2 separate regions of the Homo sapiens genome follow, and region 2 is linked to region 1. The links are contacts of gene promoters, found by promoter capture Hi-C in human tissues and cell types (Jung and others, 2019). All regions are on one chromosome and are shown on one strand. Each heading gives the region's core, a stretch centred on a gene start or on the middle of the fragment in contact. The rest is flanking DNA. Distances are from core to core; before and after follow the strand shown. Region 1 holds the start of MRPS6 (mitochondrial ribosomal protein S6). Region 2 has its middle 34 kb from the start of KCNE2.

Region 1 (6,763 bases), core at 926-3,425:
AAGTATTGGGATTACGGGCGTGGGCCACTGCACCCAGCCTGTAACTCACTTCTGAAGGTCCAGAAATTCCTTGTTTCCTTCTGTTATTTATAGTACGCTACTTATTTAAACCAAACATGAAGTTAATTGACACTTAGCCAGGCAATTTGGATTACCTGTGTGGCTTCACACAGGTATGGGTTGTAGACAAGTCTAAAAATAGAAAATGTTAAAATCCAGCTATCTCAGAAAAACTTGGGTTCATCTCCATCTCCTACCTCCCATATGTCACAAATAGACGCATGGGATGTGAAATGGTAACCTCTGGGTAAGGTGACAAAGGTACTCTAATCTTGGCTTACGTGGACTACACGGTTAATCCACTGAATAACAATCAGCATCTTCATCTGTGTGGTAGGAGAACCGGAGGTCAGAAGGGTAGAGGGGCGGCTAAAAGTACTTTGTTTCTATTACTGTATGACCTTGGACTAGTTACAAAACTTTTTGTGCCTACATTTCCTAATCCCTAATATGGGGTTAACAGTGCTTGCCTCTGTTTAAAAAAATTACTCAGTGATGCTTACTAAAGCATGGTAAGAAAGACTTTATTCAGGACCAACGCGATGGGTACAGGGATCAGGGAAACCCGGGGAGAGAGAGTGGGCTCCAATTCTGAATGCAGCGTCGGCAAGTAGAAATTTATGGCCATGTAAAATCACTAAGAGTAACCATCGGGGGAAGAGGGATTCTGGCTCAACCGATCTAAAGGATTCTTGTAGAACTCAGGCCAGGGTGAAAAGACATGACTGGGGGATAGAGGAAGATGAGGAACCTGATCTGCTATGAGGGGATGGGGGTTCTGTGCTAGAACTGGATTTTACAAGGAAGTGCACAGATGGGCCTAGCATGAGATTCAGAAGCCTGACTAAAGTTTGGCCAAGCAAAGAATCTTTGTCACCTCAGGGCTGTTGTGAGAATTTTAGGAGACACATCCACCAGCCTTGGCATGGGGCCTGATGCAGAGTAAGTGTTCACTAAACTTTACCTATTAACGTTAAAGCACTTTAAGTTGACAAACACTCCACGTACAGAGCTTTTAATGGGGCAAACAAGGGGCAGAGGCCTCAGCTGCAGGGTACTCAACCTCTAAGGAAGGGCGCTGGAGAAAACTGCACTTGCAGAGCCCCTGGCTGGAGGGCGGAGAACCATGTGGGTGTAAAGGGATGGCAAGGGCAGAACGTATGCCCCTGCCCACCTTAGACAGTTGCTAAAGGGTCTCCCAGGCACTCAGCCTAGCCTTTAAGTGAAAGCGGAGGAAACATTTAAAGAAATGAGATAGAGTTAAGGTGTTCGCCTGCCCTCCGCTGAAACACGTGGGGGCAGGTCAGGGGCACACCACAAATGCCCGTATCGCGCCTGTGTGTACCAGGCACCGTCCTCGGAGGTTAACGTGCAGTAACTCACTCGGGTCCCCACTTTCGGCACAGGCAGCAGGCCCAAGGTCACGCAGTGCCAAGGGACTGAGTCAGACCCGAGCCCGCGCGCCGCGGCCCACGGCCTGTGCCAGCGCGCTCCTCGCCGGGTAGGGGGCCTGGTCAGCCGCGTCAGACCTGAGAGTTGTGGCTGGGGGCGAGAGCTGCACCCCCCTACCGACCCCGGGCGGGAATGTTCCAGAACCCCTGCGAGCAGCCGTTGGCCGCACAGCCCCCGGGCCGGCCGCGACCCCGCCTTGCGCCGCGAAGGTCCCTAGCTCCGGGGAGTCGCGGGCGAGGGGCACGCGCACGGACGAGACCGCACCGCAGCGCACGCGCACTGGCGGGCACTCACTCGCCCGCCGCCCGGGAGGAGAAGGAAGGCATGGAAAGTTCCAGCCGGTTCGAGAGCTAGGTAGCAGGCATGGCAGGAGGCGGGGTAGGGGCAGGCAGGGTCGCGAGGGGGCGTGCGGCCGCCGCGAGCCGCTCTGGGCCGCGTCTGCAGCACCGCCCCTAGCCGCGGCCGGCGGGCTGGGCTGGGGTCGGGGCGGGGGCGGTGCGGCGGGTGCGGGGCTGCGGAGGGGGCGTGGCGGCCGCCCGCGGGCGGAGAGGGGGCGGGGCGGCGGCAAGGCGCGCGGGCGGGGCGGGGCGCGCCGAGGGGGCGTGGCGCGGCGTCTGCGCAGCTGCCAGCGCCTTTAAGCCCGGGCTCGCGCTCTCGGACCGTGCTTTCGCCGCCTGGGAGCCGTCCGGCGCAGCAGTTTCTAGGTCCCCACTGTCCCCGCCGTCCCGCCCCTTCGCGTCCCGGGAACCGGCTGGCTTCCGAGCCGCACTCGCCGATCCTCCAGGCATGCCCCGCTACGAGCTGGCTTTAATCCTGAAAGCCATGCAGCGGGTAAGTGACCTTCCCTCAGAGCCGGTCTTCCCGCGCGGGCGCCCCCGCTGCCGCTAGGCCGCCGTCCCCCGCGCGCCCTGGCCGCGGGACCCCGGGCCTTCCTGCACTCCTCGGAGGAGGCCGGGGCGGCGGGCGGGCGGCGGGCGTCCGCGGGAAGGGGGCGCGCGTGGGCCGGCCGGGCCCGGCCGCGTGCGCGCGGGAGGCGGGGGTGTGCCTGCGCGTGTGCGCGGTCCGGGAGGGTGTGCCTCGCAAGCGGCCCGCCGGGCGGGGGGCGGGGCGGACCGAGCGGGCCCCGACCCCGATCCCGGCGCCGGCCCGCGGGAGTCCAGTGGAAGGTCCGCGGGAGGACACGCGCGGGCGCCCAGCCCGACTCCGGCCCGTCCCCGCCAGTCGTGAAGCTGCCTCGTCGCCGGCCCCGCCGCCGCCGCCTGGTCCGTCCCGCTCCGCCGCCCGCCGGCTGCCGCCGACCGCCTCCGCTCTAGCGCCCGCCGGCCGCCCGGAACGTCCGCGCCCAATAAAGCGTTCCTCCAAAGCTTGTTTGTGCCGTTGTCTGTATTCCAGTCTCTTGCAATCGCTCTCATGTTAAAAAAAAATCTTTTGACTTTTCTTTTTCTGACTTCAGCGAAAATCCCGCTCCGGGTGCCCTTAGCCCAGTTTCATTCATCCAAGTTGTGGCCTTTCTTGCGCCTCCAGAAGACACTTTCTTCCCCCTGCTTTTGATTGATCTTGAGGTAGGGGATTTCAGGTTTGGAGGGATGCTAAGCGAACCAGCGGCCCCTTTCAGGTGACGGCGTGGCCAAGGACAGGGGCCCGCGGCCCGGAGGCAGCTCACTTCGTCCTCTGTCCTGGGTCATGTACTCCTCAAGTCGTCGCCGAAATCCCCATTCTCCCGTGAATTCGGAATTCGGTAACGTAGTTTGGTGTTATGTTTTTTTTTCTCCACCAGGTGTAATAAAACAAAAATCATTGTACCACGTCCGAACTTTGTAAGCACAGCTTCCTACAGCGCTAGAGGAGTGGACGCATTTTTACGTTTGAAATTAGGCTCCAGGTCAATTGCGAGGAGTATTACCAAGTTTGGTTGAACTTAAGCTCAATTGATAAACTAACAATCACGGAGCGTCGGGAGATTGTTAGGAAGTGTGCTTTGCATATTGTTAACTGGGAAGGGACGCCAGTGCCTCTCTATGAGGTCCAGACAGCCTGGCCAGGCATGCCATTGTGTCCCCCAGCTTGTTCTTCATGGATTTGGAAGAAGTTAAGATAGTATCTGTTCAGCCTCTTGAATATCCCTTTTGGCCCTCCTCCTTGCTTACCAGCATATGTAACTCCGAAAGGATAGGAGCAGTGAAAACAAAGCATTATTAAAAGGGAAGATTTTTAATTAGGTGGAAGTTGTTTAAGCCCTCCCTTCAACTTACGTGTTTTAGGGAATGTGGAACCTGGGAAATTCGTTACTGAAATTCCTTTTGTTTACTTTCCTTGTCTTGGGGAGGTAGCAGGTGACACTGAAAGAGGCAACCTGTAGGCAATAATATTTGCTCATTCTGTAACCCTTTGAAACCTTTGAAATGAAGACTTGCCCTCCCCTTTGTTTTTGCCATAGTTGCCAAGTATCTTGGTTAACATGGCTGCAAGTATTAAGTGTATTTCTTTTACCATTTTTTTTTATGTCCTGTAATAACATAGCCTTTGGATGTGGAGCACCCATTTTTCACTCTAGTTCAGATCAACAGAGCGTAATTTGGTTAAAATAATAAATAACCTTCCTTGAAATCTTCGCATGAGGGAAGGGGGGCAAAAAAAAGAAAAAAAGCCCTAGAAAGTAGATAATAAAGGTGAACTGCCTCTTGGAGAAAGAGGCCCCATGGCAGTAGATAGAAGGTTGTAACAGTGGTGACTTATGTACAATGGCGAAGTTATGTTGAGGAGATCCTTGACCTAAATAAAGTAATATTAAACAATAGCTTCTCAGTTATTTGTTCAAAAACCTATCTGTAGCTTGTAAATGTGGCACAAACACAAAGACTTCCAGGTTTTAGACCAGTTTGCTTGCTTTCAGTTTAGGAAAATAGGATTCTAAAATAGGATGAATGTTTGGGGGGAAACGAATTTAAAAAGTTAACTCTAGGCTTATGAAATGAAAAATGCGACTGTGAGCTTGCACACCGGTAGCAGGCCTTGGAGAAACCACAGTTCTAACCCGAGGCACTTTGTGCTTCTGTTGCAAGAAGGGTATTGAAGCTCCTCAGTTCAAAGTTGCGTATCTTCCACGTTTTTAGATTCTTAAGTGTATACCTCTTTACCCCTTTAATATGATGTATTTTCCTTTCCTCCCCAAATCATTTGTGCATCTTGGAATTGAGGAAAATGCTGTGTTAGGCAACTTTAACAGCGGATATGGAAGTTAAGAAACTATAGTTTTCCAGCCTTTGGACTCCCAGAGCTGCTCTCCTGTTTTTTCTCCGCAGTACTCAGCCTGGAGAGCATTCTTAGTCTGTTTGGAGAATATTAACTCCTCCCTGTCCTCATTACTTTTTTTTTGACCCTAGCTTGACTCCTTTAAATTGAGCTTGCAAAGTTTTAAAATTTAAAATACAGGCCCTGTGTTGGCTGTCACAGTATCTGGATTGTAGCAAAGTCAGTTGCGGGAATGCCCATTGAAAGATTTCAGAGTGTATTATGTAGAGTCAGTCATATTGAACTATACAGTTGTACAATTAGTCACCCAGAAATTCCAATACTATGTTTTTCTCAGTTTGCAAGTAGAAGTTGATTATGAGTATCTACTTTTGTACTTCCAAGTTTGGGCATTTAGGAATGTAGTTAACTAGTGTTTCTAAGAAGAAATTTATTTTCAAGTACCATATAGCTTGATTTTTAAAAAAGTGTGTATATAAAAAAAGTTATTTCTATTTTCTGTTTTAGCGTGAAAAGTAGGTAAAAGTGTGGTTAAATTCTGAAATATGACGGTAAAGTAATGGATGTTGTGAAACTAGGCCTTTAAAGGTGACAAGCAATTTGAAAAACCAGTTGTTTAGACCAGTCTTAGTTCATATTTATAGAAGAGTCTCTGGAATAAAAAGATTTTAAAAGTCCTGTTACACCCATATCAGATAGCATCAAGAGAGTTTTATTCACTTCTGGAAAACACAGTATTCAAAGGCTGTAATGTGAAAGGACATAGCCGCAAAGGAGAGACCAAGGCTGCAGTCCCAGGTAGCCTCATTTCAGTGTGAGGAAGACCTCTGACAATGGAAAAAGAAATGGATTGCCTGTGAGATGGTGAGGTCTATATCCACCTCCACCCTGCCCCCCCTGCAATGAGAACTTTGAGGTAGATGAGGAGAAGGGGTCATGTGTTTGGTGAGTGAGCTCTCTTGTGAGTGGGAAAATGGTTGAAGCCCTTTGGTTTCACTTGATAATTAGATTTTAAAGGTTGGTATTTCAGTTAGGTAAAAGACTGAAGTGCCAATACATGAATGGTAAAGCCGCATACTGTATAATGTAGAGGAGCTTAGGAAAAAAATGAAACTTTGTAGACACTTTTTATGCCTTGGGTATACAGGAAGAAGAAATCTGAGGAAAGAAATCTGTGCAATACATAAGTATTTTGTGGTTACTTTAGGAACGCTAATTACGTCTCGTGCCCTTTTCCCAGAAGGTGTTCACAGTTGGCATAGATTATGAAAGCCCTGGGATAATACTTTTCCTGAAATCTTCTCATTGGCGTTCAGGAATTTTTACATGAAGAATTAAAGGTTAATGGCTTAATAACTAATTCACTTGCTAAATGATTCCATTGCATGTACAATAAGATAGCATTTATATATATATATCTTCATATGTTTTTCTAATAGGAATAAAGAAGATAGCTATTTTGGAAATCTTAAGTTCTTATTAAAACAAACAGTAATTTTTATGTTTAATACTCAACGCAGATTATATTTTACATTTAGATAACTCATTGAAATAGTACTTTGGTAGGGTAAGGAGTTTTGTGTAATCTGAGTTTGAGTTCTGACTTGGTTTAATTTGAATATAGAAAAGTATAATCAGTTCCTAAAATGTAGAAAACAGTTGGTTTTCTGGTAGAGTGATGAAGAGTTTTTCTCTAAATGCAAGCCTTTTTTGATTAGAACACCTGGCAAAAGTTTTGTATTTGTTCTAGAGTTCTATTCAAGTTAGGATGTTCTGAAAGTAATGCCTATGAAGTGCCTGTATTTTAGATACCCTTTGGAGATGGAGGGTGCTAATAAACTGAAGTATGAGTCAGGTCAACCCTAGGTCCTTGTAGTTTGCTTGGCAAGCATTTGATAACTAGGAAATAGTGAAGTTTCTGCTGTGTGTTGGTGGGAGACATCAGTTCAAACGGAAACATCTAGCTGTCAAGTGGTCTTTTTTTTCTTCCCATGGGCCC
Region 2 (6,118 bases), core at 1,498-3,997, 260 kb after region 1:
GAACCCAGAGTCATCTCAGATTCTTCCTCCCTGCCCTGTTCTCCCTTCCCCTGGAATGCTGATGATTTCTGGGGGTTGGGGAGCAGGAGGCTGGCACCAGGTTACCATTCATTGTCTTCCATGCACCCTGGTGCACCCTGAGGCTTCTGTCATTCTTGTCAGGTCCCTGTCCTCAGCAATGTATGTCAACGCAGCATCCTCCCGGGGCCCTGAAAGCTTCTAAGAGCTGGCACGCTCTCTATTGCTTCTGTGCAACTTTGGGCACCTGGGAGACATCTGGCTACTCTCAGCACTGATGTGCATGCAGGGAAGTTGAAACATTATTGAATTGTCCTCCTGGACATGTAACCCCCAGTTTTTGCTTCTCTAGTACTCATGGCTGGCATAGAGCGTAGAGACACCCTCCAAGGCTTGAGCCCTTTCAGGAATCCTCAGAAGTAGTTTTTCCTAAGAAAGATTCCCCACACTCTTCCGGCACTTCTGTCCTTCCTATTGCTGCTCTCCACCCTCCCCTTTGTACATCTCCATATCACCCCAACCTTGGCTGTATCAGATAGAAAAGTCCTAACTTTGCAATGCCCTCATTTATAGAATGGGAGAAGTTGGTGAGCAGAAAGGAATGTCTAGAATTAATGTCTAGAATTTAAAATACTACTTTTAATACTTAATATTATTTTGATGTGACTCATGAATCTATCCTCAACCGGTGACACTCTGAAATTCCAAGAGTGTCTTCACTCTGCTCTGGTCTCCCCACATCACCTCTGTAGGGTTCTATTCTCAGCAGTATCCCTAATAGATGGTGGCTCACACATGACATAGCCAGAACAGAAATCAATGTCTACCTCTCTTATTATGTGGAATAAGAATACATCCTCCACCTCCACCCTCTTGACTCCCTAAGGTCTACCCTGCCACTCTGCCACTGTCACTCAGTAATGGCTTCCTTCTCAAGTCCTGTGGCACTTACTGTCATGCGTGCACATCTCACTAAGGACAAGTTGCTCAGAATTGTAGTTCTGTGAGATATTGCGTAGGCTGTGACCTGCTAAGGGGCAGAGACCTTGTTTCCTTCACTGCTGTGTCCCCATGGCCTGTTGTAGCATTGGACACAGAGTAGGAATGCATCAAACTTTTAAAAACAAGCTTTTTAAAACATTGATGAATTCTGTTAACAGGGTTGAAGGCTCCTCAAAAGACGGGCTTGTGTCATACACGAGTCCTTAATATGTGTCTAATATTGAGCCTGGAGATAATATGTGTCTAATATTGAGCCTGGAGAAATGGAAAATGGAAAAGAAGTGAAGACTGTTTCAGGGGGCGTGCTTGTCTCCCAAAGACTTAACAGCCTTGGGATTCAAGGTATAAACACCCCAAATAACAAACAGCAAAAACTTGCTTTTGCAGCAGGAACCCCCCAAAAGGGTCTAAGCAGCTAAAGAATTGAGAGATGAGAAATCCCCACAGGGAACAATGAAATCTTCACAGACATGATGATGCTTGGGTTGGACCCTATGTCATTAGGTCCATAGTAACATCAACACACCCTTGTGGACATCCAAGGGCTTTGACCAATACTCATACTATGTCTACTTAATTTAATGCATAACTTATTAATCCCATAAGCCTATTAAATATTGTTCTAAAAATTTAAACACACCCAACTAATAAAACTTATGAATTTACAAATTTAAAAATTCCTCAGTATTTAAACATTAATTACAAACTTCTTTAATAAAATTTTTCTAATCACTCAATTCAACTCACAAGTCTAATATATTGGATTCATTTACATGCTTCAAACCATTTGGATATTATCACAATGATAATGAAACTTCATTACAGTTACATGTAAAACAATTATAAAGTTACTAGTATTTGGTCCTGATTTTTTTCATTATATTTTTACTAATTTTTATGCTTTTCTCATCCTGAACTTGCAGTGACTATATAAGACAAAAATTTCTATACCTTCCTAGGTGTATTAGTCTGTTCTTGCATTGTCATAAAGAACTACCTAAGACTGGGTAATTTATAAAGAAAAGACGTTTAATTGGCTCACATTTCTGCAGGCTGTACAGGAAGCATGGCTGGGAGGCCTCAGGATACTTACAATCATGGTAGAAGGTGAAGGGGAAGCAGGCACATCTTACATGGCTGGCGCAGGAGGAAGAGGGCAAAGGGGGTGGTGCCACACACTTTTAAACAACCAGATCTTGTGAGAACTCACTCATTATCACAAGAACAGCAAGGGGGAACTCCACTCCCATGATCCCATCACCTCCCACCAGGCCCCTCCTCCAATATCAGGGATTACAATTTGACATGAGATTTGGGTGGGAACACAAATCCAAACTGTATCACTAGGGTTATGATAATTTATCAGACCCAAAGTAAAAGCATGATCTCAGCCTAGTCAAGGAAGCAAGCTCTAGGTTTTATATCAATTGGCTCTTCTTAGGATGTAGGGTGTACTGGCTACAACATCCAAGGAAATTTAACTCTGAACTTCTCAGCTGGGATCCTTTTCACAGTTGAATTTTGATTTCTATGCTTGCCGCATATCTTCTCTCTACCCTCCTACATCTGCTTGGTGCCCCTGTTCTCTGCCCTGGGAGCCTGCCCTGTGTAGGTGCATGTATGGGATCATGGAGACTCTGCCTTCTGGTTGGGTTCAGCTAGTGGGGTGCCCAACGTGAGATCAGAGGCAGGCAGGAGGTGTCAAGGGCTGGTCCCTTCCCGCAAAGTGGTTTAGGCCAGCTGTGTCCCTCACTGCTCCTCTCAAGGTGGCCTGCTGTGCGTGACCCTCCCATACCATGTTTGGGTATTTCACATTCCTTGTCTCTTCTGTATGGATTCATAACAGCGCCAACACTACTAACCCTGGTATCCTGCACCACCCCAGGAGGCTTCGCTACACTCCCTCCTATTTTTGTAATTATTCCATCATTGAGTGATCTCGTTTTGCCATGCCACATGTTTCCTATTGGGATCCTGATGGTGGTGAGGGGTTTAGGAGAGGCAGAGAGGTGCTCGAGTGCTCTGGACGCCCAAGGAGTTTAACTCTGACTGGCCAGCAGAGGGCAGGGACAGGAAGGGTGTCTCCATGCAAGCGTGCCGATTTTACAAGATGGCGTCCAGTTTGGTCAAAACAGCCCAGAAGGCTTGCCTCAGGAACAGGCCTGCTGCGGACACCCCCAGGAGTGAGGGTACAGGAGACCATGGAAAGGCATCTAAGATGACAAGCTTGGCTGGGGGAACAAGACAATCCTCAAGGTGAGAATTACAACTTCCAGCATTATTGTAGACATAGCATAAAAAACATTCATCAAACCCACTGCCAAAGGAATTGTCCTTAAATACAAGTCCGTAAACATCAAGCAGTTGCGGCAGCCTCTGCTGCTCAGCAGAGCCTGGTTCTTCGTTTCTTAAATCGGCATCATCATTACTATTGTTGCCCAACTTCAAATGTACTGGCTTAGGTGAGTGGGTGATTTGCCGAGATCACGTCTTCATGGACTAACTGGAGAGCGAAGGCAATTATGCAGATAATTCACCCAAGAGCCTCACTTTGCTGAAGTTCGGTAATTACCTGAAGAGCTTGTTTTTCAGTGTCTCCAATGGCACACTCAGACAAAAACATTTCTGTTTTCTGGATGATGGCCTCGCTTCTTTGGCTGTGTGACTTTCGCCCCAGTGGAAAAGTGATATTCATCATATTATGGTCTGTGAGCCTGTGAAATCAATAAACAAGGCGTCGTGATCTGGGCTGGTAACAGCTCCAACTGTGCACGGCAAAACCCCCAGAGCTGTTCATTCTCCCACCACGCAATTCCCCTCTCATTCTGTAGGCCTGAGGCCAGGGACCCAGCCTCTCTTTTGTTGCATTTCTGAGATGATGGTCTCCATTGCAAAGGTAAGTCTTTCACTGAGCTGATTTAAACAGCATAGGAACCCCCACTGCATATCTAATGAATTAAAACCTTGAGTTCAGTGTTGGTGAGAGGTGACTGGCCACTTTGCGAAAACCAGCTCATGAGGCTGTTCCTTGGGCTCCTCAGTGTGGCCAGCACATGTGGGCAGCTGCCTGGGGGATATGATTTGGAGGACGCAAGGAAGGACCCTTGGCCTTCCACAGTGCCTGTGATTCCACTGTTAGAGATATACTTCTTTGGCTCTTAAACTAGTGATTTCCACTTTTAAGAGCCTCATACTAAAATGTTACCTCTAAGAGAAAGGATATTTCCTTGGGACCACATGAGTGCAAACAATGATGGCAATGCTTGTTCTGTGCTTACAAGATCCCACTTCATCCTCAGAAGCTCTGTAGCAGGAAGGTACCATTATCATCTCCATTTTGTAGATGCGGCATCCGAGGCACAGAAAGGTTCAGTAAGTTGCCCAAAACCACATAGAGAATAAGTGTGGGGGCCAGGACTGGACCGGGGCAATCAACCTGGATCACTGCTTCTTTCTTCTGCTTCTTGGAAGCTATTAGGTGACTGCAAAAGGAATTGCCGTTTTTGCATTATTGGAACTTGCTGTTTAACATTGGAACATATTCTTAAATAAATGTAATTATGTTATACATCATTTTAATGGGCATTTCTCACTTTTTTTTTTGCTAATGACGTTACTTGCTGTTTATGTTTATTTTAGACTATGGAAATGATGTTAGACAAAAAGCAAATTTGAGTGATTTTCTTATTTGAGTTCAAAACGGGTCATAAAGCAGTGGAGAAAACTGGAAACATCAGCAATGCTTTTGGCCCAGGAACTGCCAAGGAATGTACAGAGCAGTGGTGGTTCAAGAAGTTTTGCCAAGGAGACGAGGGCCTTGCAGATGAGGAGCGGAGTGGCCGGCCATTGGAAGCTGACAATGACCAATTGAGAGCAATCATGCTTTAAAATTGGTGAGGATGTAAAGTCATGAAGAGGGAATTGGTTTAGGGGCAACACACCTCTGAGAGTGCCCTCCAGAGTTGTGTGACACAGTGGCCCAGAGAGAGTGTAGAATCTCCAGGGCTATCCAAAACACTAAATTCTTTGGTACTTATTCATTGAATCAATGGAGAGACTTTAGGGATGGCATTTGGTACAGATCTGTAAGTAATGTATGAACATCCTTGGTCTCTAATAGCAGTAACGACAATTTTAATCATCATAATTATTTAGCCTGTACCTGCTCTGTGCACAGATCCTGTGCCATGTGCCCTGTCACACTTAACCGTTACAAGAGCCTGTGAATTACAGATGATATTCCTATTTTATAGACCAGGAAACTAAAGCTCGGAGAGAGTCAGAATCTCTGATCTTACGCAGTGTCTTGGTCTGCTCCGGCTGCCATAACAAAGTATCACAGACCGAGTGGCTTCAACAACAGGCACTGATCAGGCACTGATTGCCTAATAGTCTTGGAGGCTAGAAGTCCAGGGTCACCTGTTGAAAGGAGGACTGGTTTCCCCTGAGGCCTCTCACCTTGGCTGGTAGGTGGCCGTCTGTGTGTATCCCAGGTGTGTCTCTGTGTGTCCAATTTTCCTCTTATAAGGACACCAGTCAGATTGGATTAGGGCCTACCCTAAAGACCTCATTTTAACTTAATCACATCTTTAAAGGCCTTTTCTCTAAATATAGTCACATGCTGAGTTACTTGGGGTTAGAGCTTCAACATATAAATTGGGAGGGGTGGGGTTCAGGGATACAATTCAGTCCCTTTCAGACAGCAAGTAGGATGAACTAAGGAGAAAAATGGGACTAAGGCGGTCATTAAGTCTCATTAGATCCCCTCTCAGAAGCCAGGCCTGGGGCAGGGGAGGTTTAAAGGTAAGAGCACCCACATGAGGCCAGGAGGACAGAGCATGTCTCTCTCCTTCCTGCACCCCTTCCTTCCATCCCATACTAACTAATCAGTCTTCCCTATAGGTCAAAAGTATTGAATGGTTCAGTTAATTTCCTTCAGCCTAGAACCTAAACTCCAGAGTTATAATGAGAGACCCGTTCGCGCCCACTGTGCACCAGGGCCAGATCGGAGCTGATGGGGAACCATGCCAAACACAACACCATTCCTTAGCGCATAGTTGAGGTGGAGCATGTGGAATGGGCCTGAGGTTCCTTGAAT

The links. The method cuts DNA at HindIII sites, captures the fragments that hold promoters and counts their contacts. A contact is called where the count stands out against the background at its distance.
Region 2: a fragment that was not itself captured here is called in contact with the fragment with the promoter of MRPS6 in region 1 in 6 of the 25 tissues and cell types used here (IMR-90 fibroblasts, heart left ventricle, lymphoblastoid cells and 3 more).

What each region holds. Positions count from the first base shown.
Region 1 is chr21:34,071,403-34,078,165 of GRCh38, forward strand. MRPS6 (mitochondrial ribosomal protein S6) reads left to right here and starts at 2,176. Exons shown (of 3, transcript NM_032476.4): 1 at 2,176-2,343. The coding sequence starts at 2,299. SLC5A3 (solute carrier family 5 member 3) reads left to right here and starts at 2,176. Exons shown (of 2, transcript NM_006933.7): 1 at 2,176-2,343. RefSeq lists silencers at 1,624-2,143, 2,434-2,833 and an enhancer at 2,087-3,037. The HindIII fragment of the contact is 15,607 bases long and covers 1-6,763 here.
Region 2 is chr21:34,327,151-34,333,268 of GRCh38, forward strand. No RefSeq gene overlaps it. Among named protein-coding and RNA genes, the nearest start is that of KCNE2, 34 kb to the right of the region's middle. The HindIII fragment of the contact is 4,133 bases long and covers 682-4,814 here.